Linked DNA regions of Homo sapiens: all the other regions are linked to region 1. Evidence: promoter capture Hi-C in 16 types of primary human blood cells and fetal thymus (Javierre and others, 2016). All regions are on one chromosome and are shown on one strand. Each heading gives the region's core, a stretch centred on a gene start or on the middle of the fragment in contact. The rest is flanking DNA. Distances are from core to core; before and after follow the strand shown. Region 1 holds the start of CCDC112 (coiled-coil domain containing 112). Region 2 overlaps COMMD10 (COMM domain containing 10). Region 3 has its middle 6.0 kb from the start of COMMD10. Region 4 overlaps ARL14EPL (ARF like GTPase 14 effector protein like). Region 5 overlaps ARL14EPL (ARF like GTPase 14 effector protein like). Region 6 holds the start of CDO1 (cysteine dioxygenase type 1).

Region 1 (4,369 bases), core at 620-3,119:
CTCTTCCTCCTCCTCCTTCTCCTCCTCCTCCTTCTCCTCCTCCTCCTCCTTCTCCTCCTCCTCCTGCTCCTCCTTCTCCTCCTCCTCCTGCTCCTCCTTCTCCTCCTCCTTCTCCCTTCTCCCTTCTCCTTCTTCTCTCTTCTCCTTCTCCTTCTTCTTCTTTGCCTTCTTCTTCTCCTCCATTCTTCTTCCTTCTTCTTCTTCTCCCCTCTTCTTCTTCTCTTTTTTTTTTTTTTTTTTTTTTTTTTTTTTTTTTTTTTTTTTTTTTTGTTGAGACGAAGTCTCACTCTGTCACCAGGCTGGAGTGCAATGACACGATCTTGGCTCACTGCAACCTCCGACTCCCTGGTTCAAGCAATTCTCCTGCCTCAGCCTCCCGAGTAGCTGGGACTACAGACAGGCGCCACCACGCCCAGCTAATTTTTGTATTTTTAGTAGAGATGGGGTTTCACCATGTTGGCCAGGATGGTCTCCATCTCCTGACCTCGTGATCCGCCCACCTCGGCCTCCCAAAGTGCTGGGATTACAGGCGTAAGCCACCACGTCCGGCCTCTTCTGCAAAAACTTCCCTCCACAGACTTCCGGTTTTCCTCCCTTCTCACAGATCTCTCCATATTGGTCCCCTTCTCCTCTTGTCCGTGGTCACCTTCTCGGAGTGGCCTAGGCTTAGTTCTCAGACTTCAATTTATACTCACCCTGGGTGAGCTCATTCAGTCTTATTTCAAATATTTTCTATAGGAAGATCAAATTCGTATCTTTAGCTCTCTCTCTCCTGGGCTCCAGAGGCGTTTATCCCGCTGCCTGTTTAATACCTCTACCAGGATGGTCTCTGGAGTCAGGCTGTCTAGATAGGTATCCTACCCTCTACCTGTGTGGCCATGTGATCCTTAACTTTATCACTGAAATGGAGATGATAATAGTACCTACTTCATGAAGTTATTTGTGAAGATTAAATGCAAAAGTGCATATAAAGCACTTATAACAGCCCTGGCATAAAGGAATTGCTCAATAAATACCTATTTGTTTACTTGTTAAAGGTGAAGGAACCTTACCTATGTGTCTAATTCAACAATGAATTCCCAAGGCCTAGAACAGTGCCTGACATATGCTAGGAGCTCCATATTGACTGACTGAATGAATCGATTTCTATAAAGGGGGAAAAGGTAGTACCTACAGAAATCAGCTCAGTTGCCACAGGTTGTCTTGACTGGAAGCGTCATCTGTGGCTTTTTTCCAACTTCCCAGCACTGTATTTTTGGAATCTGTCTTCTCATTGACCAAGTCCTAGGAATGTAACTGTGGCATTCCTGCCTCTGATATCTGGTTCTGTGGAGCAAGCTGGGTTTTTTTCTTTAAAAATCTAAAATATGATTTATTGTTAGAATCCATTGATAATGTTTTTTCATTTAGACTCAGTCTCAGCAGCGCTAAGTAGAAACCTAGAAAGCGGATGTATATTAGGTAAAAATATGTATATATTGACTATAACACGAATAAAATTTAAGGACGATGTAAGACAATGAATTTTCTTGACAGGTATGGGACTGGGCTGGCACAGTCGGTTAAGTGCCCAAAGGGTATATAAACCCGCGACAGGGCAGAGCGCAGCCCCCGCCCCGCCCCGCCCCGCCCCCACACCCGCCCGCCCCAGAACCCCAGACCCGCCCCTCCCCTGCATCCCGGCTCCGCCCGGCACCTTGCCCCTCCCTCGCCCCGCCCCTCCCCGCCTGAATCCCGGCCCCCGCCTCGCATTTCGGCCCCGCCCTGCACCCCAGTCCCGCCCCTCCCGCACCCCCGCACCCCTGCACCCCCGCATCTCAGCCCCGCCCTGCATCCCGACCCCGCCCTACATCTCGGCCCCGCCCTGCATCCCGGCCAAGCCCGCAGCGCAGGGAGCTGTCTGCAGAGGCCAGGGTGCGCCTGCCACGAATCCCCAGGCACCGGTGGCCGCCGCGGCCCGAGTAGCTCGGCGGGTAAACATGGCCGCACTGACGACGGTTGTGGTAGCGGCTGCGGCCACCGCGGTAGCCGGGGCTGTGGCAGGGGCGGGCGCGGCCACCGGGACCGGCGTGGGAGCGACGCCAGCGCCTCAACAGGTAAATCCGGGAGAACCGAGAGCTGCTCTGGCGGCAGGCGAGGGGCTGCAGGCCCTGGCTGAACAGGTGCCCTCTGCAGCGCCGGCGGGAGGCGCGGCGTTCGCCTCCCCTGCTCGGGGCCTGGCACGCGCTGGGCGTTGCTCTTTGTTGGCTTGTGCGTTTAACAGCTTTTGCAGAGCCGCCTCCATGTGGTTTCGGAGTCGAGGAAGACCTGGGTGGGAACCCGGCTCTGCCGCTTCCTAGCCGCGTGATAAGAACATATGCTGTCGGCGACTCACTTTCTTCTCTAAAAATTGGGAATAGTAACATGCACCTCCCGAGCTTTGGACTAACGTTATGTCTGGGGAGCCCCTGGCACAGTGCTTGATTGGAGGGGGACTCTGTGCTCAGTAATTGGTGGCAGCTCTGTTACTGTACCGGCGCTGGGAACACAAGGAGAAAGACAATATGGGATGGTCGGAGGCAGAGGTGTTTCCAGTGATCGGCTTAGGACCGCTTTCTAGGTGGTGAGGACAAGGTATCTTTGTTCAGATGTTATCAGCTCAGCGAGACTTTCCATGATCTCCCTAAAATGAATCGCCTTACGCGGCACACCCAGTCCCTGTTTCTGGTTTTATTTTTCCCCATAGCACTTAGTACCATATATTATATTACATACTTTATTTCTATTGTTTATGTTTCTCCTCACACCCCTCACCCTCCCTCGCACCCCCATGAGAATGTAAGCTCCATGAGGGCAGAAAGTATTGGAAATTTTATTCTTTATTGTATTCCCAGCACCAAGAACTATGCCTGTTGTGTAGTGCCTGGAACGTAGTATGCACTTACTAAATAATTTGTGGATCAATATAAACCTGAAGGAAGGCTGTCATGAGCTGAGGAGAGGTTCCATCTTTTTCCTCCTTTAAGGAAATACAGTGTCTTTACTCGTAGACCTTCAGGAAATTCCACCTACGGCAAATTTTCTCACACATCCTCTATAATTCTCTTTATTATTCTAACTCTGTCCCAAGTATCTCAGGAAAAAATGTAAAATATATAAATATACATAATACGTAAAGTATTTTTAAGTACTATGCTCAAAAAAATGTGTGACACCATGTTGCTGGCTTTCTCCATCATTTCTCTAAATTCTTGTAGCAATGTTCTGTCTTCTGATCTGCATTTCTTGCGAGTTGCCTAATGTTGTTATTGATGCACACTTTTGTGATGTTTGCCTTCTCAGGGGTTGGATCAGATCACCTGTGGAGCTCTTTCAGATATTTTATCAATCCCCTAGAGGATATCTAGCAATGTTTGGAGACATTTTTGGCTGTCAGAGTGGGGAGCAGGGGGGTGTTGAGGGGCTGCTAGCATCTAATGGATACAGGCCAGAGAACAGCCACCCATAACAAAAATCATCTGGTCCAAAAGTTAGTAGTGCTGAGATTGAGAACCATGGTGTATACTGTCTTACCACTTTAGTAGGGAAAGCAGAGCCTCATTGTTGAGAATCTACCTCAGCATAGTTAGGTAGAATTCTTCACGTGTGTTTGGGCTTTTTTAAAAAAACAAAACAAAACAATGCAGCATTACTGCATGCTATATTGTGATAATGTTTAGGAGTTTACATGTTATCCATTTTTGTACTTCCCCCAGCATACCACACGCACATACCTATACACACAAATTCTACAGCCTAACACCGAACTTGAATATTTGTCATATGATTAAATGAACGAATATTCCTACTGACTTTAACACTGAAACCAACTAGTATTTTCTTGAGAAGAGAGAATTTTCCTGGTGGCAATCTCATGATACTAGAGATGTCTACCAAAATATCTAAAGTTCCTGTCAGCTAGGGCTTCTATAACAAAATGCTACAGACTTGGTGGCTAAAACAACAAAAGTTTATTTTCTCACAGTTCTAGAAGCTAGAAGTTCAAGATCAAGTTGCCCTTAGGGTTGGTTTCTGGTGAGGCCTCTTTTCCTGGCCTGTAGGCAGCCACCTTCTCACTGTGTCCTCACATAGTCTTTTCTCTGTTACAAGAGGAGAGAAAGAGATCTCTGGCATCTCTTCTTATAGGAACACTAGTTCTATCAAATTAGGTCCCCACCTTAATGACCTCATTTAACATAAAGACCCCATCTCCAGATAGAGTTATTTGGGGATCAGGCCTTCTACATAGGAATTTTGAGGGAACACAATTCAGTCCATCACAGTGTCTTTAAATTACTTTGGAGTAAATATCTCTGAAGTTTTAAAACTATTTTATATTGTATTTTATTTT
Region 2 (4,369 bases), core at 974-3,473, 800 kb before region 1:
AGCTATCATCTTACCCTAGTCAGAATGGCTATTAAAAAGTGAAGAAAGTCCGGGCGCAGTGGCTCACGCCTGTAAGCCCACACTTTGGGAGGCTGAGGCAAGCGGATCACAAGGTCAGGAGTTCGAGACCAGCCTGACCAACATGGTGAAACCCCATCTCTACTAAAAATACAAAAATTAGCCGGGCGTGGTGGTGTGCGCCTGTAATCCCAGCTACTCAGGAGGCTGAGGTGGGAGAAACTCTTGAACCTGGGAGGCGGAGGTTGCAGTGAGCCGAGGTCACACCATTGCAATCCAGCCTGGGTGACAGAGCAAGACTCCGTCTCAAAATAATAAATAAATAAATAAATAAAAAATAAAAAAGTTAAAAAATAATAGATGTTAACAAGGATGTGGAGAAAAGAGAACTCTTATGGAAAATAGTATAGAAAAGGGAACTCTATGGAAAACAGTATAGAGATTGCTCAAATAACTAAAACTAGAACTAACATTCAATCTAGCAATCCCTCAATGGGGCATCTACCCAGAGGAAAAGAAATCAGTGTACTAAAAAGGTACTTGCACTCCTGTTTATCACAGTATTCATAATAACAACAATATGGGATCAACCTAAGTGTCCATCATTGGATGACTGGATAAAGAAAATATGGTGTGTATATATAGACAATGGAACACTATTGAGCCATAAAAAAGAACAGAATCATATCTTTTGCAGCAACTTGGATGAAACTGGAGGCCATTATCTTAAGTGAAACAAGTCAGACACAGAAAGACAAATACTGCATATTCTTACTCATAAGTGGGAGCTAAATAATGTGTACACATGGATGTAAAAAGTGGAATGACAGACAATGGAGACTCAGAAGGGAGAGGAGGTGCTGCGAGGGTGGATAATGAGAAATTACCTAAAAGTCCTGAATTCACCATTATGAAATCTATGCATGTAACAAAATTTCAGTTGTACACCATGAATTTATACAAAGAAAAATAAATAAATGGCAAAAAACAGACGTATTAAAGTGAGATGAGATGAAATTTTAAAATCCCTTCAATCATATTCTGCAAAAAGCTATTAATGTCAAGTTTTTTTTTCAATTGGCCCTCTCATTTATTAAATCTAAACAATAAGAGATAAAAAGAAGTGTCTTTCAACCAGTCTTTGACAAGGGCACCAAGGATACACCATGGGAAAAAGCCTTTTCAACTAATGGTACTGAGAAAACTGAAAATCTACATGCAAAAAAAAAAAAAAGGAACTGGACCTTTATCTTATACCATGCACAAAAATTAACTAAAAATGAATTAAAGACTTAAATGAAAGATCTGAGACTATAAAATTTCTAGAAAAAAATACAGGAAAAATAGCTCCTTAGCACTGGCCTTTGCAATGATTTTTTGGATAGGACACCAAAAGCGTATCACTTTTTGGATATGAAATACATAACAAAAGCAAAAACAAACAAGTGTGATTATATCAAACTAAAAAGCTTCTACACAACAAAGGAAACTTAACAAAATGAAAAGGCAACCTATAGAATGTGAGAAAACAGAGGTTCGGCATCCCTAATCCAAAAATCCAAAATCTAAAATACTCCAAAATCTGAAACTCTTTGAACTCCAACATGATACCATAAACAGAAAATTTCCCACCTGATCTCATATGACAGGTCACAGTCAAAACTTTGTTTCATACACAAAATTATTTAAAATATTGTGTAAGATTACCTTCAGGCTATGTATATAAGGTGTATTTGAAACATAAATGAATTCAGTGTTTAGACTTGCTTACCATCCCCAAGACATCTCATTATGTATATGCAAATATTCCAAAATTCAAAAAATCCAAAATCCAAAACACTTCTGGTCCCAAGCATTTCAGATACGTGATACCCAACCTGTATTTGTAAACCATGTATAAGAGGTTAACATACAAAATACATAAGGAACTCACAAACTCAATAGCAGGAAAACTAATAACCCATTTAAAAACTGGACAAAGGAACTGAACAGACATTCTCCCCACCAAAAAAAGGCATAAAAATGATCAACAGGTATATAAAAGAGTGGTCAATATCATTAATCATCAAAGAAATGCAAATCAAAAGCATAATACAACATGACGTTACATCGTTAAAATACCTATTATCAAAAAGACAAGAGACAGCAAGTGTTAGGAAGACAGCAGAGAAAAAGAAACCATTGTACAGTGTTGGTGGGAATGTAAATTGGTACAGCCTTTATGAAAAACAGTATGGAGGTTCCTTAAAACATTAAAAATAAAACTATCATACAATCCAACAATCCCACTCCTGGTTTATACGCAAAGGAAATGAAATCAGTTGAAGAGATATCTGCACCCTCATGTTCACTGCAGTATTATTCACAATGGCCAAGATAAGGAAACAACCTAAGTGTCTGTCAACAAATGAACAGATAATGAATGGAATATTATTCAACCTTTAAAAAGAAAACACTGCCATTTGTGACAAAATGGATGAACCTGGAGGGTGTTATGCTAAGTGAAATAAGCCAGGCACAGAAAGACAAAACACTGTATGAGCTAATTTATACGCATACTCTAAAAGTTTAACTCACTGAAGCAGAGAGTAGAATGGTAGTTGCCTGGGGATGGGGTATGAGGGAAATGAGGAGATGCTGGTCAGAGGGTACAACTTTTAGCTATAAAACAAATTAAGTTCTGGGAATCTAATGTATGGCATGGTGACTATAGTTAATAATACCACGTTGTTTACTTTAAGTTTTCAAAGACAGTAGATCTTAAATGTCCTCACGCACACACTCACCCACACATAAAAGGTGGTAACTGTGTGGTGACAGATATGTTGATTAATTTGATTATGGTAATCATTACACAATGTATACAGCTATCAAATCATCACATTGCACACCCTGAATACGCATAATTTTTGTTTATCAATTATACCTCGATAAAGCTTAAAAAAGAAGTTTTTAAAATGGAATAAAAATAAACACCTTTTGATTTTTTAACATTATTTCATTGATCTTACCCTCTTTGAATTCAGAATCACAGTCTTTCCTCAGTATCTAGCGAGGGCTGGTTCCAGGACCCCCTACAGACACCCAAAACTGCAGATACTCAAGTCCCTCATATAAAATGACACAGTATTTAAATATAATCTACACATATCCTCCTTTATACTTTAAATCATCTCTAGATTATTTATAATAACTAATACAATGACAACACATCATTTCTGTGGATTTAACATAGTACTCAGCACATGGCAAATTCAAGTTTCACTTTTTGGAATTTTTTGTTTCCCAAATATTCTTGATCTGCTGCGAGTTTAATCCATGAATACGAAATCCAGGGATACAGAGGGCTGACTGTACTACCAACATGTGTTCTGCTGCAAGCACCCCACAGTTTATGTGGGTAGGACCCTAAGTTACCATAAAACAGTTAAAGTCATTGCATGTACACCTTTTTTCATCATATAAGTCAGTGTAATATATTTTTGTTACAATTTAAATGGCATGATCTGTTTTCACATCTGGCTATTTTGGCCACAGTATCCTAAACAGTTCTCAGAATGAAAAAGAAAGATAGCATTACAGCTGCCAGAGGTAGCATGATATAAAAGGAATAAGACTTAGAGACAGACAGATCCAATCCTCATTTCAGTTTCATCATGGACCACTTGGGATAATATGATAAAGTGACTAATATTTTCTAAAGTTTTATTTCCTCACTTTTAAAAGGTATGTGACATGGTTTGGATCTGTGACCACAACAAATCTCATGTGCAATTGTAATCTCCAGTGTTGGAGGTGGGCCCGGTGGGAGGTGACTGGATCATGGGGGCAGGCTTCTCATGAATGCTTTAGCACCATCCCTTCAGTGCTATTCTTGTGATAGTTGAGTTCTCGCAAGACCTGCTTGTTCAAAAGTATGTAGCCCCTCCCTCCTCCCTCTCTCTCTTGTTCCTGCTCCTGCCATGAAAGACACCTGCTCCCCATTCACCTTCCACCATGACTGTAAGTTTCCTGAGGCCTCCCCAGAAGCCAAGCAGATGCCAGCACATCATGCTTCCCGTACAGCCTGCAGAACCGTGGGCAAATTACACCTCTTTTCTTTATATAATTACCCTATTTCAGGTTATTTATAGCAATGTGAGAATGGACTAATATGAAGTACATACAAACAACTATATAAATCACCCTGCATAATGCCTGACGCAGAAAAATTCCGCAGCTAACATCTATGTGTTAGGATAGCATAATAGCTTAGGAATGTGACTATTCTTGTCAAATCCCAACTCAGCCACTTACTTAGCTGTACAATCATGGGCAACTTTTTAAACCTCTCTAAGCCTCAATTTTATAA
Region 3 (4,369 bases), core at 1,266-3,765, 780 kb before region 1:
CTGGTTTTTTCTTATCTTCGTGGATTTATCTACCTTTGGTCTTTGATGTTGGTGACCTTCTGATGGGATTTTTATGTGGGTGTCCTTTTTGTTGATGTTGATGCTATTGTTTTTTGTTTGTTAGTTTTCCTTCTAACAGTCAGGCCCCTCTTCTGCAGGTCTGCTGGAGTTTTCTGTAGGTCCACTCCAGATGCTGTTTGCCTGGGTATCACCAGCAGAGGCTGCATAACAGCAAAGATTGCTGCCTGCCCCTTCCTCTGGAAGCTTTGTCCCAGAGGGTACCCACCAGATGCCAGCTGGAGCTCTCCTGTATGAGGTGTCTGTCCACCGCTGCTGGGAGGTGTCTCCCAGTCAGGAGGCATGGGGGTCAGGGACCCACTTGAGGAGGCAGTCTGTCCCTTAGCAGAGCTCAAGTGCTGTGCTGGGAGATCCGCTTCTCTCTTCAGAGCCAGCAGGCAGGAATGTTTAAGTCAGCTGAAACTGCACCCACAGCCACCCCTCCCCCAGGTGCTCTGTCCCAGGTAGATGGGGGTTTTATCTATAAGCCCCTGACTGGGGCTGCTGCCTTTCTTTTGGAGATGCCCTGCCCAGGAAGGAGGAATCTAGAGAGGCTGTCTGGCTACAGTGGCTTTGCCGAGCTGCAGTGGGTTTGCACCCAGTTGGAACTTCCCAGCGGCTTTGTTTACAATGAGGGGAAAACCGCCTGCTCAAGCCTCAGTAATGGCAGACGCCCCTCCGCCCACCAAGCTCAAGCGTCCCAGGTTGACTTCAGACTGCTATGCTGGTAGTGAGAATTTCAAGCCAGTGCATCTTAGCTTGCTGGGCTCCATGGGGGTGGGATCCACTGAGCTAGACCACTTGGCTCCATGGCTTCAGCCCCCTTTCCACGGGAGTAAACAGTTCTGTCTCGCTGGCATTCCAGGCACCACTGGAGTCAAACAAAACTCCTGCAGCTAGCACGGTCCAAACGGCCTCCCAGTTTTGTGCTTGAAACCCAGGGCCCTGGTGGTGTAGGCACCTGAGGGAATCTCCTAGTCTGCGGGTTGTGAAGACCCTGGGAAAAGCGTAGTATCTGGGCCGGATGGCACCTTCCCTCAAGGCTTCACTTGGCTAGGGAAGGGAGTTCCCTGACCCCTTGCACTTCCCGGGTGAGACAATGTCCCACCCTGCTTCTGCTCACCTTCTGTGGGCTGCACCCACTGTCTATCCAGTCCCAATGAGATGAACCGGGTACCTCAGTTGGAAGTGCAGAAACCACCCGCTTTCTGCGTTGGTCTGGCTGGGAGCTGCATGCTGGAGCTGTTCTTATTCGGCCATCTTGCCAGCCAAGTAAAATATCCATTGCAAACTTTTATGAAGTCCACTTTTTATTACATTCTGTATTAGCCTGACTTTTCTAGAAAACAAGCCTAGTTATTATACATCCTTCATCAGGAACTATAATTGCAAGGGAGTAGGAATGCAGGCAAAAGGGAAACTAAGGAAAGGTAAGGAGAAAGCAAATACAGGGTGGCATGTTATCGAACTGGTTACAGCTTCAAAACCTAGCTTATTTCTCAGTACTCTGGGATATTTCCAGAGAGGCTATTCAGAATCACTGTGTCTTGGAACAACATGGCGTGGGAGTGGAAGAAAGAAATTGTCTGTGAACTCTTTCCAATTTTTTCTTTCTTCATCAAAATTTGTCCTATAACTCATGCTCCTGCATTTCTAGGATATGTCACCTGGTGCCTCTAGGCAGCCCCACTGGAAAATTCAGAGCTTCCCTGGTTCCAATAGAATAGGAACTGAGTCCTGAAGCTATAGCAGAAGAGGAACCCATGGTTCAGTCCCTGCCCATAGCCCCTTCCTTATCCCCCTCCCTCTGCCCTGCCAAGGGTGGCAGTGAGTGACAGGAGCTTTAAACCATGGCAACTGTCAGAGTTTCCAGGGGCCATTTTGTCAGGAAAGTAGAGCAACATGCTGAAGCCTTGGAAACAAGTGGGGCTGAACTTACCTGGGGAGGGGCATAACTTGGAGACAGTTCTAGCCTTTAGTGGAGTCTCAAAACAAGAGGTGCTTAGGCCCTAACTGCTTCAGTCTTTACTGTGCAGCTTTTTCAATTCACATTCACCTAGTTTGCCCAGAGTACATCATGGCACAACTTGGAGTAAGTTCTGGTGTCAGCCCTCCCTGTATCCTGGAAGCTAAAACTTCCCTCTGAGTGTGAGCTTTGTCCTGTTTGGAAGGGCTCCTTAGTGGCCTCTACCTACAGCGCCACTGTACACTCGCCCTCCCCCCATCAGGCGTGATTTATATTTTTGACACCCAGTGATGTAAAGCCAAGATCTGGGGTGTTTTTCTCCCAGAAGTCTTCCCCCAACCCTAAAGGAACTCTGAAGACACCAGGGATCCTCACCCAAATCTATCCTTCGACATTCCAGTCCCAAATGCAAATGATTATCTTTGGAGGAAGAGTAACACCTACTCACCCACCAGAATAGTGTCCCCAGAAACCTAGTCCAGCTGAAATGATCTTTTAAGTAATTTTTTGATATATATTCTCAAATAGGGGGATGCAGGCATTTTATTATGTACCTCAGATTGTTCTGGCAAAGGGTTGCCCAACTATGTGACCCAGTTCCTTAACATTTTGAAAGTCTGAAGTCCTACAACTTATCCTGAGTTCATCAAATGCATCTAGCAAAGAGACGTATAAAGGCAGGAGACTCAAACTATCTGCTACCCATGTCTGACTGCCAGACTGACTATAAAACACAAACTTCATATTGAACAGCTTTGTCACGTTCACCTGCAGACGCTGTTGCCCCAGTTTTCCTCTTTCCCACCCCGCACTGCACACGCTCTTCTCCCTCTCCTTACCATCACACACATGCAGTTTCTAGCCCTGTTTTTAGCTCTGCAGTCAGCACTTGCCTCATAGGTGTGAGAGAATCAATTGAAGTGGAACTGAAGAACAGCCTTCTAGATAGTAAACATGTAATTGTTCATTTCACATTGCCTCCCCAGAGTCCTAGGGGGATAAAGTTTTAAAATTACATATTTTTATTTATGAGTTACTTATGTGAATATTCCTGTTTAATGTGATACACATAGGGAATAAAGAATGCTTGAACACAATCTATTCTCTGAATATTTGCACAACAGGCTGTACTGTAGAAAGAAGCAAGAAATGGCCGGGCGCAGTGGCTCACGCCTGTAATCTCAGCACTTTGGGAGACCGAGGAGGGCAGATCACGAGGTCAAGAGATTGAGACCATCCTGGCCAACATGGTGAAACCCTGTCTCTACTAAAAATACAAAAATTAGCTGGGTATGGTGGTGCGCACCTGTAGTCCCAGCTACTCAGGAGGCTGAGACAGGAGAATCACTTGAATCCGGGAGGTGGAGGTTGCAGTGAGCCGAGATCGTGCCACTGCACTCCAGCCTGGTGCCAGAGTGAGACTGTGTCTCAAAAAAAAAAAAAAAAACAGAAGCAAGAAACAGAGAATAGTATCCAGGGTGTAGGCCACATTTTCCCATAAAAAACAATATTTATGTTCACCCACCCTTAAACAAATGGAGGGTGGGGAAGAGGATGAGAGGGAAATATTTATTAAAATGTAGCAAAAATACACTTTATAATATATGAACAGATCCCCTCCTAATGTATTCTCAAACTTAAAAGTTGAAGACCATCTCAAATTATCACTCGTCCATTTTCATTTGCACCTAGTTTTTCCCGTCCTGCCTCCCAGAGGTCTGTGCCATTAACAGGACCGATATTTACACATAGGATGTGTGAAAGACAGAGTGCTTTCTTCAGTAATTTTCACCTGTGAACACCATTTGAAAAGAATCGGTGGACATGTCAGAGTGAGGCAAGATTACAGACTCCCTTTTACGCCACAGCTAGTAAAAAAAACTAAAAAAAGTAAACATCATAAATAGACAACAGGAAAAAGAAATCAACTTATTAACAGCAAACAAACAAACAAGCATAAGTTAATACTACACTTGAAAAATGATCTGACGAGAAAAGAAACCGAACTTCTGCCTTAGCTAAGCTGGATCCTAAAGGTGGTCCCCAACTTGCTGAAACTGTGCTAGGAAAAGAAGGTTTCCACAAAACCATGAGCGTTCTCTTTATATCCCCAAACTTGGAGAGGAGCAGAATTGGAGGTATATAGTCAGCCAAGAAGAAATCATGAAAAATACCTGGAGAATATAAATGCCTGAGGCTGATGCAGGACTAGCGGAGTCCAGAGGAAGCTCCGGAGGTCACTCTTTTGATGTATCTGAGTGAGGGAAAAAGTAGAGCAAAAAGGCAGAAAAACAAAATACATCTAATTATCTCAAATGATGAATAGGAAGCTATGAAAGTTGAAGA
Region 4 (4,369 bases), core at 934-3,433, 760 kb before region 1:
ACGAAAAATACAGAATTTTAGGAATCTGTGAATGTTAAAAAGAATATTCGAAGTCCAGGATTAAAATATAGGTTCTGAAAAGGAAAAAGTAGTACAAAAACTGTGTATGTTAAATCATATATATGGACTATCGTCCTAAGTAACCTCAAACTATCTTCTGCTGTTACAGACATCACAGAGAATGAAGGAAAAAAGAAAAAATAGATAGAAGAGAGAGGACACATAGGGATTTTTAAAAAGTATTTTATACAATAATATGAACCAACCTAAAGCACACAATGTCTAACACATAGTAAATGTCAATAAATGCTGGACAAACAAGAAATCCGCACATCAAATGGCACCTTTCTGCAGGACCATTTTGCTGTACAACTCTAGGGGGCATAATTGGCATTGTACAGCTGTCCATGTAAAAGTCACCTTCTGGACTTAAGTAATAAATGTCCCTGCATGGCCAAACATTGAAGCCTTGCATGTGTAAATGTTTAAAAATGTCCAAAGCATTCATTACATAACTACCATCTACGACATCCACAGACTATACAAAATGGCATTGTTCACTTTTATAAAAATAGAGGTTAAATGATTTTTCTGTGAGTTAGCATCCCAACGTCTATACCTGCAATGGATCCAAGATGTTGTGTCTTGGGTGGGGGTAGCTGGAAGGGGAGGTACAGAAGGATTATCTAAGACAGTGTACAGATATTCTTTAACTCTTACAAATTACACTCAAAAGTTGTCACAAAAATTGACGTGATATGGCATTCTAGTCCAAAATCCTTGCATAAATGGGCACGGGATAATTTGTCTAAATCCTTCAGTATGTACTGGTTTAATTTAAATAACCTTTTGTAAAATAGGTTTCCTTCCATTTTACACATATTCATGAAGACATGCTATCAGCATTGAAAGATAGCCAAGCAGAAAAAAGTCCTGTCACACTGACAAGACGATTTCCTTGGGTAATGTAATCAGATAGTACAGCTGCATTCCTTGTTAATCTGAATTTAGTTCAAATAGCTAAAGAGCTTTATTCACTTTGTAATAAAAATTAGACACTTGCAAAATAAGTTTTAGACAATTCACATAAATTTATTTTTGTAATAATTATTTATTGCAAGAGAAGTTTTAGAAATACACTGAAATGGCATTAGATCAAGATGAAATAACCTGATTTCTAAAAGTGTACTTCATCAAATGCTTTACTAGGCTTCCATGATAGCAGTATTAGGTGTCTGCTTAGTTAATTATGCAGTTTTTTACTTTATTTTTTGCCTTACTTGGAAAATTTACCAGTATAATTTTTCAACACACTTTTTAAGCCAGATCATTTTAAACCAGATTCCTTTATCTAATCCTTAAGACTGAGTGACAAGAGGAGACAGAAAGGAAGGAGGCTTTAATGCTAATTTGCCTAGGATTATTTTTTAGCATGAAAATTGGACAACTGATGATATAGGGCAGTGTTTCTCAGATGTATCAGATCATAAGACTTAACTGCAATGCTTGTTTAAAATTATGGAATCCCAGGTCTCATTCCTACAGGTTCTGATTCCTGAGGTTGGGGATGGGTCTTAGGAATGTTTATTATATTAAAAGCACTTAATGACCGTAGTGTAGGAAATACGTGGCATCATTGAAAGAGCTCTGACCTAGTCTTAGTGTTCAAAACACCAGGGCTGCCAATTCTTCTGTGTGTCCTTACCTGAGTCACTTAATCTCACTGGGTCTAAATCTCCTCAGTTGCAAAGGTACAAAAACAACAACAACAAAAAAGAGTTTGGCCTTAGTCCATAAGCCCCATGAAGACAGGAGCCCTGCAGATTTTGTTCACTGCCTGGTCCCCTGCACCTAGCCTGCTGCCTGTCACAGAGCAGCCTCTCTGTTAGTATTTGTCGACTAATTCACTATATGGATGAGCTGCAAGGCTCTTTTTGGCTCTAAGATTATATGATTCTAAAATGAAGAAGTAATAAATGCATTTGGTCTGCCAATTACAAAATAATAATTATTCTCAAAAATAAAACAAGATATAAACTGAAAAAGGCCCTGCTTGTTTTTACTGGTTTCCCGGCTGCACATTCCTGGTGAGCATTTCAAAGAATGTGATTTGGGTAATTTGATTTTACGTCTTCCTTACTGGGCTGTGATGGTTAAAGGAAATGCAATTCATTACCGTGTTAACACAATGTTTAGTTCACAGTGTATGCTCAGTAAAAGTAAGTGAAATCTGGAAAACCCAGTAAATTCTATGGAGAATGATGCAGAAGAATGTAAGTTCTCTTGCTCCGTGGACAGGTGTACTGTAGTCACACCATTACTTTTAGGACTTTTCTTATTTTAGTCCTAAAACATACGTCAAGCAACAAATCCAGAACTGTCAGAAACGTTCCCTGGCACAAGTAGATTGTGCAGAAGTGAGTGTTAAACTGATTATGAAGGAAAAATAAATCCTGAAAACTCTATTTATAAAAGGCCGGTCACGGTTGCTCACACCTCTAATCCCAGCACTTTGGGAGGTGAGGCGGGCTGATCACTTGAGGTCAGGAGTTTGAGACCAGCCTGGCCAACATGGTGAAACTCCGTCTCTAATAAAAATACAAAAATTAACCGGGAGTGGTGGTGCAAGCCTGTAATCCCAGCCACTTGAGAGGCTGAGGCACGAGAATGGCTTGAGCCCAGAGGCGGGGGTTGCAGTGAACGGAGATCGCGCTACTGCACTGCAGCCTGGGTGACAGAGGGAAACTCCGTCTAAAAAAAAAAGAAAAAGAAACAACAACAACAAAAAACCCTCTATTTATACTATTTCAAATTTATTTTAAAACTTAAATGCTTTTATTTACTTTTAAATTTTTATTACGTTACTTTATTTAAATACTTCCAGCTTTGTGCAGTGGCAGTATCATAGTCAATGAGGTTTAAATACTTCCTTACATTATGTATCTAAAATAATTTAGAGAAGTGGTTCTCAAAGTGTGGTCCCCACATCAGCAGCATCAACATCACCTGGGAACGTGGAACAGATGGTTGAGCCCTGTCCCAGATTCTGAATGTGGGGCTGCAAAAATCTATGTTTTGACAAGTTCTCTAGGCAATTCTCATGAATGAGAACCATTGACTTAGGGTTAAAAAAAAGACTGTCATAAAAAAATGAATTCAAAGAAAGCTGAATTCAATATTTTATAGCTCTGATGATGTATCAAAGTTGAAAAGACTACATCATTTATCTAGTCAATTGCTTATCAACACACTCAATTAGCAAACATACAGAAAATCATTTTTGTATAACTTGTTTTCTCTCTATGAAAAACAAATCCTGAAATACTGCTTCTGAAATCAAAAATATGTAAACTCCTGGCTTTTAGGATAATAAATTCCTAACTTTTCAATTTTACAAGTACAATACAAATTTTAATGATTAAAAATACTACCAAGTATTACTAAATTTCATTTTAATGTTATTAAAACATGAACAATAAAAAAATGAGGCTATGGGTATACAGTGCAAAGTCACAGTTTTTCTTCAAAATCCAAATGGCAATTCTGATTTACAGCTAGTGATGTATAAGATTCTAAGGACAACTAGATATTATAAATTTAAGATTCTATGTTCTATGTAAGAAAAGCTCTCAACTACAGAGTTTTGAAAATCTTAAAGCTACATTTTCTCAGATATCAGCAAAGAGGGAAGAGAGTTTTAATTTGAAGGCAGAGTAGAGATGAGGGTGCTGATGAGAAATGCTGATCCCTCCATTGTTACATTCTTTGGTTGCAAGTTAAGGGACTTGAAAATTGTTGACACAGTTAAGAAGGTTACAGAATTATTGCCCATTCTACATTGTTCTGGGGCTTGACAGAACATGAGTCTTCAGTATGTTTTTTCGATATTTCCCCCAAGCCCTAAAATTCACCCAAAAGAAAGAGGTCAACTTAAATGTGTAAGAAGAAGAAACAAATCAGTCCATATACAAGAGCACCTAGTCAGGAACATTAAACGGCAGCGTGCTGATGACCTCTCCTGACTCAGTGACGATGGCATCGTAAACCCACCGTCGGTTGCAGCGGCACTCGGGCCCACACTTGTTGGAGTTACACTTCGGGCATGGGTAGAAGCAGCCCAGGCAGTTCTTCTCTAGACAATCACACAGATCAGCGTCATTACAGATGAGCCTGCCACTTTTGTCATACTTCCTCATTATTCTACAAAGGAAAAGCATGACATTAAGATGACAGTGCAATCATCCTCAACATTGAGAATAAATTAATGTACAATCAACATCATACACATGACCATTTTACCCTGACCCAGAACTCCAGAGATTACCAGAAACATTGGTACTCTGGACCAGAACTCCAGGGATTACCAGAA
Region 5 (4,369 bases), core at 1,088-3,587, 740 kb before region 1:
TGTATATAGACTCTAATGAGCATCATTCCCAGTGACAAAAATGGAGTGACTAGCAGGTAAGTGAAATAAAGTCAACAGAGAGGAGAGTAAGCAGAGTTATGCAATTTCAGGACCTCCAGCAGCTCCATTTTGGAAAATCATTAAAGCAATTTAAAAAACAAAGAAACAGAAACAAAACAAAAAAATAGGATAAAACTACTTCAGTGTTTTCCCCCAAAACTTCCTTGTAGAACTGGCATGCCTTATATGCCAGTAAATAAATACATATATTTTTACATATTGAAAAATAATAATAAAGCAGTGAAAGTATTCTATATGATACTTCAGCAGTGGATATATGCCATTATACGTTTGCCAAAAGCCATAGAATAGAATGTAATAGACAAAGAACTAACCCTAAAATAAATTGTGAACTTTGTCAATATTGGCTCATGAATTATAACAAAAGTACCATACTACTGCATGATGTTAATAATCAGGGAAACTGTTGGGGGATAACAAGAGAATACATGAGAACTCCCTGTGCTTTTTGTTCAATTTTACTATAAAACTAAAACCTCTCTAAAAAATATTCTATTGTGTTTTTTGATGCACAGCATAAAAACTTTTTTTTTTTTTTGAGAGGGAATCTCGTTCTGTCTCCCAGGCTGGAGTGCAGTGGCGCTATTTCAGCTCACTGCAAGCTCCACCTCTGGGTTCATGCGATTCTCCTGCCTCAGCCTCCCGAGTAGCTGGGACTACAGGCGCCCGCCACCACGCCCGACTAATTTTTTTTTTTTTTTTTGTATTTTTAGTAGAGACGGGGTTTCACCGTGTTAGCCAGGATGGTCTCGATATGACCTCGTGATCCGCCCACCTTGGCCTCCCAAACAGCATAAAAACTCTTTACACAATTTCTAATTTGAAACAGAGAGTGGTATAAGTGAAATAATATTCAGTTTAATTGTTTTATATTAAAAGAATTAAATTATTTTCCTTATTTTACTATTATTACTATTATATTTACTATTACTTTTAACACAACTATATGCTAATATTGTGTTACTACTTTGACTTACTAATATCGTCCACTACGTCCCAGTCCTAGGACACATTTTGTTCTTGCTGTATCTAACTGTGCCTTTATTCTCTTTTCCAGAAATGCCTTCCCGTCACTCTTTAATCACTCCTTTAATGCCTTCCCTTCACTCCTGTTATATACCAAACGGCTATAATTTCTATTAATTTCGATTATAGCCAAATGGCTATAATTTCTATTATTGTATATAAATTCTATAATTTCTATTATAGCCATTTGGTATATAACAGGAGTGAAGGGAAGGCATTAAAGAAGTGATTAAACCAAATGCCTATAATAGAAATTATATATAGCCATTTGGTATATGTCAAAAGCTTTAAAATAGACATTATCTTTGACCCAGCAATTCCTCTTTGGGAAATTTATTCTAAGGAAAGACAAAGATCTTCGCAAAAATTTAGCTACAAGAGTAAATCTTGTATTAATTCCTAGGTTTCGAGTTGCTAAGTTGGGAGAGTAAAAAGTTTGGCAGCAACTTAATAGTCAAAACAAAATAATGTGATATGAAGTAGTCATTAAAATAATGTTGTGGAAACATATTTGTTAAGAAGGAAGATCAATACACATTATTATTACAAAAGCAGATCTGAGAATGTAGAGAGTTTTAAAATTTGTCAGACAGTTTAGTAAATCATATTTTTCTAGGAATGTAATCATTTCTTCTAAGTTTTCAACCTTATTGGCATAAATTTGTTCATTATATCATCATGTTATCATTGATGTCTGCAGCATCTGTAATTATCTAATGTATTCATAATACTGTTTATTTGTACCTTTTCTCTCAGAGATTTCTCATCTTCTCAAAGAACTAAGTTTTAGCTTTCTTGTTTTTTTTTCTATGTCATATTCTTCTAAGAACTTTGGGTATATTTTCATGTTCTGTTGTTCTAAGAGGTATGTTTAGCTCATTAGTTTTCATTCTTTTTTTCCCCTTAATGTGAGCATTTCGGGATATAAATCTCATTAGGTTCTTCCCTGCCTGCCCAGCTTTGTATCATCTCTCCTTTTATCATATCTCTATCTTTGATTTGATCACTTGTTTCAAAGAAGAAGTGTTTTCTTAATGTTTTTGTTTCATGGAGAAGTTTTTTTGGTCTTTTATTCTGCTTTGTAGTATATTTGTTCTTCTATGTGTCCCTTACCAGCTATTTGATTTTCCTGATACCTTTGTAGAGATCCCATTCTGGTTCTTTCTGTTTAATCTGTGATCTTTGCTTGAAGGCCATCCTTTCCAAGCACCTATTTGTTGAAGGATGATAGGAGGAGGGCCTGGGGTCAGGAGTGGATGAATTTAAGAGAGCAAGTGGTTAGGTGTGTTGACTTGGGAGCCTTCCCACCAAACCCTGTTCGGGACCTGACCTTCTGCCCCAGGCTTACACTCCCTCCTGGGGTACAACTGAGTCTAAAATGTTTCCTGTCCTCTTGTGGATCAAGACCAGTAACTGCAGAGCTGACTGCCACCCACCTTCTTCCCCCACCCTGCTACCAGACAGCAAGGGCGGTTTGTCTGTGCATTTCCTCATTCTGCTTCATTTCCTCCGCCACCCCTGGGCCCCAGGGACTCCCTGAAAGGCTGTCTGGGGCTTGTAATTACAAAGTGTTACAGGTTTGGCCTCTCATGGTGAGCCACTTAATTTTGGAAGGTTCTGCCTCCCATTAAAGATCCACAGAAACATGTATTTGCTCTCAGATTTCTTTTACAACTGGGTCCAAATTTTGTTTTTTAGAAGTAGTTAGTCATAGAACGTGCTTTTCAGAATGTGCTCTATTTCCTCAGTGCATTGAATTTTCATCTTTTTCACACCCGCCCTCCCCACCCCATGTTTCCCAGGCCAACTTCTAACCTAACCTGGTTTCCCTGCCTTGAGTCTTTTTAATCTCCACACTTCGCTACTGAAGTTATTCTCCTTAAAATTCTTGTCTGCATTGTGTCACTTTCCTCCTCCAAAACCTTTGTGGTCCTTTGTGGTCCTCAGCATGATATTTTAGGCCTTGCATGACATGACCTAATTCTACCTTCCCAGCCTCGTTGTCACCGCATCCTTCCATTAGCCTGACACTAAATTCTAGCTAGAGTGCAAGAATGTTCCCACTTCCAGGACCCACTTACGCTTTCCCCAGTGTATGTCTAAAATCACCATTGTGTAATCATCCCCATTGCCCAGTTAGAATAAGCACCTCTGTTTCTATGTTTGCAAGCTTGTTCATAGTTATTTACACACTTGTCTCCCGTATCAGCCCTCTCCCACTTCAAGGCAGGATCTATATGACTCTTCATTTCTATGGCATCATCTGCCACAGCAACTAGGACATTGGTACTCATGCATACCCACTAATAGAAAGGATCAATGGCACATTTTTCACTGTGAATAGTAACTTAGTGATCTGTTTCCCAGGAGTCTGAGCAATATAAGGCACTTTTTTTTTCAGGTTCTAACCCACTCCGCCATCCCTACCTCTCCTCCTACCTTGCCCTGTTAAATTGGAGCATAATATTCCTGCTGTGCATGATAGGCAATGCAAACCTTAAGGTTCACAAACACAGCAGTGACTGAGAGCATTTTCTCTCCATGAACCTTACATTTGCAATGCATCCCCTCTTCCTGCTATTGTATAACCTACATCAATGCAGTGTTTATCTCAAATTGGTGTTAAAATAAAAACCACCAACTAAAACCAAACAAAGTACATTCTTGTGTGCAGGTAAGAAAACAGTTAGATAGTAATCATAGGTATCTCTGGATTTTTTATACTTTATCATTTCCTATATTTACCCATTTCCTGTAATAAGCATGTATTTCACAATTTTTAAAGTTATTAATATTTTAAAAATACTTCTAAGAATAATGTAGAACTCTCTTGTATGTGTGAAATAACTATGTCCAGCAGATGGCACAAAACCCCTAATCCAGAATTAAAACAGTTAAAAACAAACAAACAAACAAAAAAACTCTTGTTACTTGAAGAATGCCATGTGAAGGGCATGTATCTTAGTGACCAGGAATGAGCCAAAATGGACACTGCTTCCAGAATCTTCGTCTCCACTAGGTATGATTTGTTTATCTCTGTTATAGTCAAAGGTGAGTCATTTCAGAGGTAAGGAAGGGGCCTCTGTGATATGCAGGATGTGTGGGACCTGCAGAGGCTTCAGGGCAAGATGGACTATGCAGAACATTCTCGAAAAGTGGACAAGCTGTGTGTCAATGCGGTGTCACATCTGGAGAGGGCTTTGGAGACCATATAGTCCATGTGTTTCAAACATTGTTATTACCATTTTTTTCTAAATAAACT
Region 6 (4,369 bases), core at 764-3,263, 520 kb before region 1:
AAAATTGGTAAAACTGACAATACCTGGCGAGGATGCGGGGCAACTAGAACTCATACATCACTGTTGAGAATGTGAAATGGCACAGACCCTTTGCAAATTAGTATGTCAATTTCTTGCAAATTTAAACATGCACTGACTAAATGGCCCAGCAATCTCACTCCTAGGTATTTACTCAGGTGAAATGAAAATTTCTATTCACCCGAAAAAACATTTGTTGAATAAATTAATGAATGAATAATAAACGAATGGAGCTATCATAATGTAAAATGACTAGATAATATCTAAAATTGCTGAAACAAAAAAAAATATAAGCCTATTTTTGGAAAAAGGAAGTAACTACCACAAGGAATAGTTAGAAGAGTTAAGAGACTGACTCTTTAAGCACAGGACAGATGGTCAGGAATGGTTAAAAGGGCCTGCTGCTTTTCATTGACCTTCCAGTACTATTGATTTTTTTTAACTACGTGAATATATTACTTTCATAAAAATGTAAAAAGAAAAAGAGGAGTCAGAGAAAGAAAATGAATTGTCAGAAAAATTTAGAAGTTTTATCAACTGAAATGCAGAAAAGATAAATTGTGCTTGCATTTCATTTTTGTTGTTCATTCCAAACATTTATGGATTAGACTAGCTGAAATGAAGTAATTAAGAGACTCAATAGAAAACATTGCCAAGAATAAAAAATAATTTGAGGAAACCATGAAAAGTTTACAGGTTACTCTGTCACAAAATACTTTGTTAATTCACTACCCCGCAGCAACACACATCACCAAGGCTGGCTTCTGGAATGCTTTCTACTTGTAGCCATTTTTGAACAATAGGTGATTCCGCTTTTAACAACACTGTTAGAATATAATGTAGCGAGTTTTACCAGAGATGTTTAAGACTACCTGGCACAAGTAAATTTCATTGTATACATGTATATACACGAGGGAGGGTGATCATAGTCTAGAAAAAAACAGGTCTTCAGAAGTCTAGAACTTTAATAACCTTAAATCCAAATTATTCCCTGCGTCCATCCATAATGAGAAGGAAGAAATCTACACTTGCATTTCTTCCACCTTTCACATCTTTCTCATTTAAATCCTACTGTACTTGATTTGTGTTGTTCCCAACGTACTAGGTGCTATGCATGACGTAGAAACGTGTTTCCTTATATGTATGTACTAGCAGGCTCCTTCAAGCACATGCCTAAGGTTGAAAGATTCAAATATAATTATAGCCTCTTAAATTATTGCGTCAGAGCCCGCCCTATCCCCTCAGAAAAAGCCCCCTTTTACACCATCAAATGAAATATCAGGTTATTTGCACTGGATATTTTTTAAAAGAAAATATTTGATTTTAAAATCAAAGAGTTCTTGGTTTTCCATCATTTCACTAATTGTCTTACTAGAGACCCGAGTCTCCTTTGTCAAAATATATTTCAGTACGCATTTTAAAAAATATGTGTGTGTGTATACTTAAATATATATATATATAAAGTCTTGGACTTATTTTCACCTAGCCTGGGGCATATCGTGGATAGTTTCAATCGACAAAACAGGCACTCTCTGGCCTAGGAGTGGAATCCATCCTCAATTTTCGCAGGCTCCTCACAATTCTCTATTTGGAAGAAGTGTCCCTCTCCTTCCCTTTTCTTTTCCTCCTTTACTCAGCGTCAGTCCCCGCAGCCATCTCCTCCGACCCTTTTTGTCTACGTCCCAGCGTCGCGAACCACAGCGGCGGAGGTGGAGCGGGGAGAGGCGTTAGGCCGGGCGGCTAAAACGCGCCGTTAAAGTGGGGGAGAGATTGCGCGGAGCCCACGCGATCCCTGGGACGCCGGAGACAACGGGGCTCTTGGGAAGGCGCGGAGCCCGGGGAAGCCGGGGATGTGCGCGTGAGCCGTGCCCGCAGGGTCTCCCCGCCTCCGCCACCTTTCTTGGGTGGCTCTCCGCCTCGTCCTCCCTCCGAGGGCCGTTGGTACATTCCTAGTGACTCCAAGCGCTTAAAAGGGGCCCGGGAGGATGAACCCCACAGATCTGAACCTGATTTGTGTGTGCACCGCGTCTCCAGCGATCCCGGATCCACTGCGCTGCCAGGGGCCTGGGGGTGGGTCTCTTGCTGTCTCTGCGACGACATCCTTACGTTTCGGCACTCTAATGCTGGGTTTGTGCGTGTGTGTCTGCTTAGCGGTCTAGCGGGCTGTTAGGCTCCCTCGCCCCCAGCTCCTTGGCTCGCTCAGCTCCTCCACCGCAGCCCAGCAGTGAGACGCGCGCGCAGCCAGCTCCCCACGAGATGGAACAGACCGAAGTGCTGAAGCCACGGACCCTGGCTGATCTGATCCGCATCCTGCACCAGCTCTTTGCCGGCGATGAGGTCAATGTAGAGGAGGTGCAGGCCATCATGGAAGCCTACGAGAGCGACCCCACCGAGTGGGCAATGTACGCCAAGTTCGACCAGTACAGGTGAGCGCGCTGCAGCTTCAATGCCAGGCGGCGCCCACTCGCCCCGTCTGAGGAGGAATGGACGTGGGGGACGCAGCCCAAAGTGACTGGCTCGGGAAGCTCGGGCCGCGCTGCGTCCGCCGCTCGCCCCCTCGCTGGCCAGCCGCGGGGCTGGCACGACTCGCTTGGGGCTCCGCGGCCACAGCGCAGGCGGAAGGTGGATCCTACTGGCCTTGCTGACCTCCGGCCGGGAACGGCGGACAGGCGCCGGGAAGGGAGGCCACCGCGCGTCTGCGAGATTTTCTGTTCTCTTCTCTCCCGCAAACCCCTCTGCTTCTAAACCACCAGTCCTCCTGCCCCTGGCCTCGGGAGCAATGCCCACACTCCCAAGCCATCGTTAACCCCGGGCGCGGAGATGCGGAGAGACCGCACTCAGGTTCGGGCCCTCCTGACACCTTAAGGAACCGTCTGGCCGGACTAGCAGAGGGTGCTCCCAGGGGAGCACTACATCAGCCATCGGGAGAAGTGTGTGATGTTGAAGAAGACAAGTCACCCGCGTCAGTTCTCCATCACTGCGCCTTCGGTCGCCTGCAACCGGGCACCTTATAGCAAGCATTTTTACTCATGTAAAATAGCGTCTTGTGGCCGTCAGCTGCCACTACGGAATTTCTGCTGTTCCCTTTCCCAAACCAATTTAACTAACTTCCCCGACTGTGGGTTTATTCAAATCCACTGCCAAGTTTCGCAGATTAAATATTCGACCGTCGTTTTTTTCAGCCCCCAAATGATCTGATTTATCTTATCCTTGCTTCTGACGATCTGTAATGTAAATTAAAGACCCCTACTTCCCAGATGTACTTGAGTGAGGTGCCCTGGTAAGCTGGCTTTTTTGCAGCCCCGGCTTGGTGATTAAGTCGAATCTCTCTACCAATCCTCCGGGGCCAGAGGTAAAATTTAATCACCCCGAAGTGTGAGAGGTTCTACTTTTTCTGAGCAGTTAGTGCGTCAGTCTTTGTGGTTTTTTGGGTTTAGGGTTAGGAGAAAGGGGTAAGTGAAAGAAAAGAATAAGGAAAGAAGTAAGTTTGTTTTTCTTGGGAGCAGGTTCTTTTAGTCACTCTTCAACATGTGGGATGTTTCGTAAAGTTTTGTTGGCATGGGCGGTTTCAACTGTATTTTAGGATTTGAAATAGAAAAAGTGAAGACCACTAAGGATCCCATTTTTCATATACAAGTGACTTGAGGAAATTCCTTTGGCTCCTATCAGCTTAGTTCATGGTAGAGCCCTTCTGTAGCCGTGAAAGCTAGCAGAGAGTCTAGCTTTTAAATTTTCTTGCATTTGCTCCAGGTAATTGAAGACTTGTTATGGGACAGGTACTCTTCCAGACACTTGACACATATGAGGAATGGCAGGCAATGAAGAAGTTGAATGACTTGCACTAGGTCTTCTATCGATAGCGGCTCCAGGCTCCCGGGGTTAGCATTGTTGTTCCAGAGCCTACACTCTAAACCACTGTTAAACCAGGACAGGTTGTAACAGTTTTTAATCTTTAATCTTTAGAACAAGTGTATTTTCAAGGACCTTGAACTAGTCTCGATTGACAAACTCTAAAGCTTTTGAAGTGCAACCAGCTGGGTTGATCGGTCTTTTCACAGATATCTGAGGTACAGCTCATTAACATAATGGATGTAGTCCCGAGGGGGCAGTTGGGGGAAGACAGGAGATGGGAGAGAAGTCAATTCTACAGTATTTTTTGCATTAAATAGGTGCCTAGCGCTGTGAAGGATTCTGTTCTCTGACTTTGGGAGGGCCAGTGCAGAAGAATCAAGACAGAATATGCTCCCGTGTGGGCCAGGCTGTGAATTCTTTGAAAGAAGCTGCAGAGAAGCAACAAAGATTATCCTAAGACTTCTGGAGGAAGAATTAGGATCCTTCTGCAGGAACTCAG

The links. The method cuts DNA at HindIII sites, captures the fragments that hold promoters and counts their contacts. A CHiCAGO score of 5 or more calls a contact.
Region 2: a contact is called between a fragment that was not itself captured here and the fragment with the promoter of CCDC112 in region 1, in 1 of 17 cell types (fetal thymus). The highest score is 5.6, in fetal thymus.
Region 3: a fragment that was not itself captured here is called in contact with the fragment with the promoter of CCDC112 in region 1 in 5 of 17 cell types (total B cells, total CD4 T cells, naive B cells and 2 more); the score reaches 9.5 in total B cells.
Region 4: a fragment that was not itself captured here is called in contact with the fragment with the promoter of CCDC112 in region 1 in 5 of 17 cell types (naive B cells, M2 macrophages, total B cells and 2 more); the score reaches 8.7 in naive B cells.
Region 5: a fragment that was not itself captured here is called in contact with the fragment with the promoter of CCDC112 in region 1 in 1 of 17 cell types (naive B cells); the score reaches 5.8 in naive B cells.
Region 6: the fragment with the promoter of CDO1 here is called in contact with the fragment with the promoter of CCDC112 in region 1 in 4 of 17 cell types (total B cells, naive CD4 T cells, total CD8 T cells and 1 more); the score reaches 6.0 in total B cells.

What each region holds. Positions count from the first base shown.
Region 1 is chr5:115,294,154-115,298,522 of GRCh38, reverse strand. CCDC112 (coiled-coil domain containing 112) reads left to right here and starts at 1,869. Exons shown (of 10, transcript NM_001040440.3): 1 at 1,869-2,096. The coding sequence starts at 1,980. LOC105379129 (a long non-coding RNA gene) reads right to left here and starts at 1,595. Exons shown (of 5, transcript XR_948684.3): 1 at 1,175-1,595. RefSeq lists a silencer at 1,771-2,220. The HindIII fragment of the contact is 8,729 bases long and covers 1-4,369 here.
Region 2 is chr5:116,097,402-116,101,770 of GRCh38, reverse strand. The region is part of intron 4 of COMMD10 (COMM domain containing 10); the gene reads right to left. Among named protein-coding and RNA genes, the nearest start is that of COMMD10, 15 kb to the right of the region's middle. The HindIII fragment of the contact is 1,467 bases long and covers 1,490-2,956 here.
Region 3 is chr5:116,076,861-116,081,229 of GRCh38, reverse strand. No RefSeq gene overlaps it. Among named protein-coding and RNA genes, the nearest start is that of COMMD10, 6.0 kb to the left of the region's middle. The HindIII fragment of the contact is 4,497 bases long and covers 267-4,369 here.
Region 4 is chr5:116,058,556-116,062,924 of GRCh38, reverse strand. ARL14EPL (ARF like GTPase 14 effector protein like) reads right to left here. Exons shown (of 4, transcript NM_001195581.2): 4 at 3,436-4,200. The coding sequence ends at 3,978. Among named protein-coding and RNA genes, the nearest start is that of COMMD10, 24 kb to the left of the region's middle. The HindIII fragment of the contact is 4,719 bases long and covers 1-4,369 here.
Region 5 is chr5:116,037,230-116,041,598 of GRCh38, reverse strand. The region is part of intron 1 of ARL14EPL (ARF like GTPase 14 effector protein like); the gene reads right to left. Among named protein-coding and RNA genes, the nearest start is that of ARL14EPL, 6.9 kb to the right of the region's middle. The HindIII fragment of the contact is 1,885 bases long and covers 1,395-3,279 here.
Region 6 is chr5:115,814,303-115,818,671 of GRCh38, reverse strand. CDO1 (cysteine dioxygenase type 1) reads left to right here and starts at 2,013. Exons shown (of 5, transcript NM_001801.3): 1 at 2,013-2,444. The coding sequence starts at 2,275. It overlaps LOC124901049 (a long non-coding RNA gene), which reads right to left and starts at 1,584. Exons shown (of 2, transcript XR_007058908.1): 1 at 1,501-1,584. The HindIII fragment of the contact is 6,274 bases long and covers 1-4,036 here.